2 separate regions of the Homo sapiens genome follow, and region 2 is linked to region 1. The links are contacts of gene promoters, found by promoter capture Hi-C in human tissues and cell types (Jung and others, 2019). All regions are on one chromosome and are shown on one strand. The core of a region is centred on a gene start or on the middle of the fragment in contact, and the rest is flanking DNA. Distances in the headings are between cores, read along the strand shown.

Region 1 (3,021 bases), core at 340-2,839:
AGATTTCTGCAATGAAATTCAGACAGGAAAAAAACTGAGACATTGAAAACAAGTTGCCTCTCTCCTTAAGAGTCAAGTCGCTATGCCTGGGCAGATGTGTCCATCTGTCCACAGGAGTTTCTCACCCTGTGATGTGCATCTGCTTGGTGCTCAGTAAGTGTTTGATTTCATGGGGAAAGTTTTCAGGGATATGAGGAGTCATTCAGATTCTCTTGTTCTTTTTTTGTGTGTGTGTGAGATGGAGTCTCACTGTGCCACCCAGGCTGGAGTGCAGTGGCACGATCTTGGCTCACTGCAACCTCTGCCTCCTGGGTTCAAGATATTCTCCTGCCCCAGCCTCCCAAGTAGCTGGGATTACAGGCACGTGACACCACACCTGGCTAATTTTTGTATTTTTTTTTTTAGTAGAGATGGGGTTTCACCACATTGGCCAGGCTGGTCTCAAACTCCTGACCTCAGGTGATCCTCCTACCTTGGCCTCCCAAAGTGCTGGGATTACAGGCACGAGCCACTGCACCCGGCCTTGTTTTGTGTTTTAAGTCTGAAAATATCTGTATTCTTTACTCACACTTGAGTAGTATTTTTGCTGAGTGAAGAATTCCAAGTTCGAAATGCTTTTTTTCAGAATTTGAATATTGTTAAACTGTTCTATAATCTACTGTTGAATTGAAACATTTGATGGCAATCTAATTACATGGATATCATCAGTTCATTGCACCCCATGCCCTTAGGAAGTACTGGAGTCTCCTCTTCATTTCCAGTGTTCTAAAATTCCACTATTTGTGTCTAGGTGTTGTGAGTTCATATTCATTTCAATGTAAACATATGTGCTCTTCAGATTTTTTTTCTAGAGTTTCTTTCTTATGTTTCTCTCCTCCATCTTGGTTTGGTTTCATTTTTTCTTTTCCAAAATAAATGTCCATTGGCCAGATCTTTCTGTGTCGAACCTCACTCTGTTTCATCTTTTCTTTCATATTTTCCTCCTTCCCTGATCTACATCTTGTGCAATATCTTTTGTTCTATTTTTGCTTAAATCACAAACTATCAAAGTTGGACGTGACCTTGCAGATGAGTTACTTCAATTCTCTTATTTCGCAGGTTGAAAGTCTAAGGCCCCACAAGGTCAGGAGATCGAGAACATCCTGGCTAACACGGTGAAACCCCGTCTCTACTAAAAAATACAAAAAAAATTAGCCGGGCGTGATGGCGGGCGCCTGTAGTCCCAGCTACTCGGGAGGCTGAGGCAGGAGAATGGCGTGAACCCAGGAGGTGGAGCTTGCAGTGAGCTGAGATCGTGCCACTGCACTCCAGCCTGGGCGACAGAGCAAGACTCCATCTCAAAAAAAAAAAAAAAAAAAGAAAAGAAAATCTAAGGCCCAGAAAGGAAGAAGGTTCAGGGAGGTGAAATGACTTGCCCATAGTCATACCTGTGCCTAGGGCCAGGGCTACCTGACTCTAAACTCTTGATATTTTCCCATGGCCAGGAAGCCTTGAACAATTTATCCCCTCACCTTTTCCGTTAGACATCGGGGAGGTGACCCATCAATAGAAAGGAGCCCTTCAGGTTCCAGGCGAATAACCAGCCTGCCATGGAGGCTGCCAATGAGTCTTCAGAGGGAATCTCATTCGTTTTATTGGGACTGACAACAAGTCCTGGACAGCAGCGGCCTCTCTTTGTGCTGTTCTTGCTCTTGTATGTGGCCAGCCTCCTGGGTAATGGACTCATTGTGGCTGCCATCCAGGCCAGTCCAGCCCTTCATGCACCCATGTACTTCCTGCTGGCCCACCTGTCCTTTGCTGACCTCTGCTTCGCCTCCGTCACTGTGCCCAAGATGTTGGCCAACTTGTTGGCCCATGACCACTCCATCTCGCTGGCTGGCTGCCTGACCCAAATGTACTTCTTCTTTGCCCTGGGGGTAACTGATAGCTGTCTTCTGGCGGCCATGGCCTATGACTGCTACGTGGCCATCCGGCACCCCCTCCCCTATGCCACGAGGATGTCCCGGGCCATGTGCGCAGCCCTGGTGGGAATGGCATGGCTGGTGTCCCACGTCCACTCCCTCCTGTATATCCTGCTCATGGCTCGCTTGTCCTTCTGTGCTTCCCACCAAGTGCCCCACTTCTTCTGTGACCACCAGCCTCTCTTAAGGCTCTCGTGCTCTGACACCCACCACATCCAGCTGCTCATCTTCACCGAGGGCGCCGCAGTGGTGGTCACTCCCTTCCTGCTCATCCTCGCCTCCTATGGGGCCATCGCAGCTGCCGTGCTCCAGCTGCCCTCAGCCTCTGGGAGGCTCCGGGCTGTGTCCACCTGTGGCTCCCACCTGGCTGTGGTGAGCCTCTTCTATGGGACAGTCATTGCAGTCTACTTCCAGGCCACATCCCGACGCGAGGCAGAGTGGGGCCGTGTGGCCACTGTCATGTACACTGTAGTCACCCCCATGCTGAACCCCATCATCTACAGCCTCTGGAATCGCGATGTACAGGGGGCACTCCGAGCCCTTCTCATTGGGCGAAGGATCTCAGCTAGTGACTCCTGAGGGCAGGACCCCACTGAGGACAGACTGCATCACCCACACTGGCAACTGTTGAACGTGACCCTCTGTCCTCTGCTATGCTCAAAAATCATAACAGCTGTCATTTCCTGAGCACCTGCCCGGAAGCAGATCCTTGCCTGATCTCATTTTATTCCCACAGCCACCCAGGATGCAGATATTATGATCCGGTTTTACACACAAGAAAATTTGTCTTTAGGCTCAAAGATAAGAAGTGACTTTCCAGCCAGGCACAGCGGCTCACGCCTGTAATCCCAGCACTTTGAGAAGCCGAGGTGGTGGATCACCTGAGGTCGAGAGTTCAAGATCAGCCTGGCCAACATGGCGAAACCCTGTCTCTATTACAAATACCAAAATTAGCCAAGCATGGCGGCGCACAACTGTAATCCCATCTACTCGGGAGACTGAGGCAAGAGAATCACTTGAACCCAAAAGATGAAGATTGAAGTGAGCTAAGATTGTGCCA
Region 2 (3,013 bases), core at 95-2,594, 47 kb before region 1:
CCAAGCTGCATTTTGTATCCTAGAAAAAGCTAATGTATCAGTTAGGAAAAAGCTCGGTTGTGCTATGGAAACAATCAACCTCAAAGTCTTAGGACCTTAAAACCAAAGGTTTATTTCTCATTCACATTGTAGGTCCACCATAGAAAAGTGTAAGTGTGCTACTTATTTTCAACATGCAGAGACCCAAGATCGTGGAGCAGTCACCACTGAAAACATTAATCATCACTCTGCCAGAAGCTGAGAAAGGCTCTTGGAGGTTTCACACTGGCAGTTAAAAACTCTGGCCCAGAAGTGACCCTCACCTCTTATGACCATAACTTATTGTCTAAAACACCTCTCATGACCCCACCCAAACGCAAGGCAGCCAGGAGGCACAATCCAACTATGTCCCTCTAAGATTTTAGAAAGCCAGAAGTATTTGATAAACCGCATTCATTACTACTACCCAACTATATTAACATACAAACACATCAGTGTGAATTAGTTGCTTCATCAGTTCTCCTGGATTGTGTTATTGTCAATAACAATAGTAATGTAACACTTACACACTGTCTGGGATTTTTCTGCTTCAATTATTTCATCAAGTTCCCACAACCATCAGCTTTTCTAGGTCACAAGCTTGTGTGGCAGGACCTGACGCTGAATACAAGTTTTTTGGCCTTAAAGATTTAGTAAGAGGTGAATGGTGTCCAAGGAAATACAGGGACACCTAGGTTCCGACATCAAGGTCCCTGCTAGTGCTTTCACTACGTGCTCCTAATTATAAGGGAGTAACCAGAAAGCCAGGAAAGAAACCCAAAGCAATAACCTTCGTGTTTGTACAGGCACACCTGGTTTTCACCACTATCTCTCACTGATCATTTGGTTTGTGGGATGCTGGCCTAGAAGATATGTACCATTTCCACTTACTCAATTTATGTGCCATAGTTTTCTCATGCTCAACCAAGTTCAATTAGCTACTTCAGAATGTTAGGAATATCTATATTAAATAAATCTATTCATAAATTATATGTATATTACATATACATTAAATAAACAAATTCATTAATTATGCCACCATTAACTTATAAATCCAATTAAGTTCTTTAGTCCTGAGAACACTAACTTACTTTTTTTTTTTTAACTTATTTTAAATTCCAGGATACATGTGCAGGACGTGTAGGTTTGTTACATGGGTAAACGTGTGCTATGGTGGTTTCCTGCACCTATCAACCCATCACCTAGGTATTAAGCCCCATATGCATTAGCTATTTATCCTGATGCTCTCCCTCCCCACTCCCACCCAGACCGCAGTGTGGGTTGTTCCCCTCCCTCTGTCCATGTTTTCTCGTTGTTCAGCTCCCACTTGTAAGTGAGAATATGCAGAGTTCAGTTTTCTGTTCTTGTGTTAGTTTGCTGAGGATAATAGATTCCAGCTCCATCCATGTCCCTGCAAAGGACATGATCTTGTTCCTTTTTATAACTTCATAGTATTCCATGGTGTATATGTACCACATTTTCTTTATGCAGTGTATCATTGATGGACATTTGGGTTGATACCATGTCTTTGCTATTGTGAATAGTGCTGCAATGAACATACGTGTGCATGTATCTTTATAATAGAATAATTTATATTCCTTTGGGTATATATCCAGTAATGGCACTGCTGGGTTGAATGGTATTTGTGGTTCTAGGTCTTTGAGGAATTGGCACACTATCTTCCACAATAGTTGAACTAATTTACATTCCCACCAACAGTATAAAAGTGTTCCTATTTCTCCAGTCTCACCAGCATCTGTTGTTTCTTGACTTTTTAATAATCACCATTCTGACTGTCATGAGATGGTATCTCATGGTGGTTATGATTTGCATTTCTCTAATGACCGTGATGTTGAGCTTTCTTTCATGTTTGTTGGCCGCGTAAATGTCTTCTTTTGAGAAGTGTCTGTTTATGTCTTTTGCCCACTTTTTAATGGGGTTGTTTATTTTTTTCTTGTAAATTTTTTAAGTTCCTTGTAGATTCTGGATATTTGACCTTTGTCAGATGGATATTTCTGATCTCACATTGCCATCAGCCCCAGACTTCTTTTTCTCAACAAATGCATGGCAAAAAAAAATCATAAAAGATGTTTTATGAATAATCCTAGAGATATTACCAAAAGTGTAAAGAAAAGGAAATTCTAGATAACAATTAACCACGAGAGTGCACTTTGGGATGAAAGAGTTCCTACTCTGACCCTCAGGTAAGTCCTAAACTTCTCAGTCAGAGCTGGAGTGTTTTCTCTGTCAAAATATGAAGCTACTTCCCACAAGACATCCTGTCACTCTTCAGAAGGAAAGAACTGCCATGAGCAAGGAGTATCTACAAAGTGTAGTAAGATTTTTGCTGTCCAATCAAGAGAGTCCAGAAGTCAACCTAGAAAGTCACTAATAAGCATGAGTAAGAGGAAATAAATAGATTATGAAGGTAGATATAATCACAGGGAGGGATTTCAACAGGCCTCTGGACATCTTGTCACATTGTCTCAAATGCTGCTACATAGTCCTTGAGAGTAGACAAGGAATCTCCTTGCCAGCTCCTTGTTTCACCATATTGGTATCCAGAAGGCTGGCTGAATACAATAGAGAAATAATACCATAGGTCTCTCATTTGTTGACAAAACACAAAAAGTTTAAAAAAATGTATTGGGTTTTTCCAATGTAAGCTTATTACATATATACAAATATTTGAGATTTAGCTCAATACTGAAATAAGGGGAATTCAGTTCACTGAACATATTTTACCTGTTTATCAGAGTAAGTGATGACAATTAGGAAGAGTGTGTAGCATGAGACCCAAGAAAAAAGTAGGGAAGAGGGCAGAGTATTTCTGGCATTGAAGAATCTAATAGAGAAAACATTATCAAAGAGGAATTAAAAGGAGTAGTCATAGAATTCAAGAGAAGAGTAAATTTGAAGAGGCAGGAGCCATTAACTGGTATCAAAATATGATGACAGTTTAACAAAATAAGGCTGAAGGTTGTCCATTGGCTTT

The links. The method cuts DNA at HindIII sites, captures the fragments that hold promoters and counts their contacts. A contact is called where the count stands out against the background at its distance.
Region 2: a contact is called between a fragment that was not itself captured here and the fragment with the promoter of OR1K1 in region 1, in 4 of the 25 tissues and cell types used here (bladder, mesenchymal stem cells, mesendoderm cells and 1 more).

The regions. Positions count from the first base shown.
Region 1 is chr9:122,798,534-122,801,554 of GRCh38, forward strand. OR1K1 (olfactory receptor family 1 subfamily K member 1) reads left to right here and starts at 1,590. Exons shown (of 1, transcript NM_080859.1): 1 at 1,590-2,540. The coding sequence starts at 1,590. The coding sequence ends at 2,540. The HindIII fragment of the contact is 19,122 bases long and covers 1-3,021 here.
Region 2 is chr9:122,751,876-122,754,888 of GRCh38, forward strand. No RefSeq gene overlaps it. Among named protein-coding and RNA genes, the nearest start is that of OR1L6, 11 kb to the left of the region's middle. The HindIII fragment of the contact is 4,183 bases long and covers 1-3,013 here.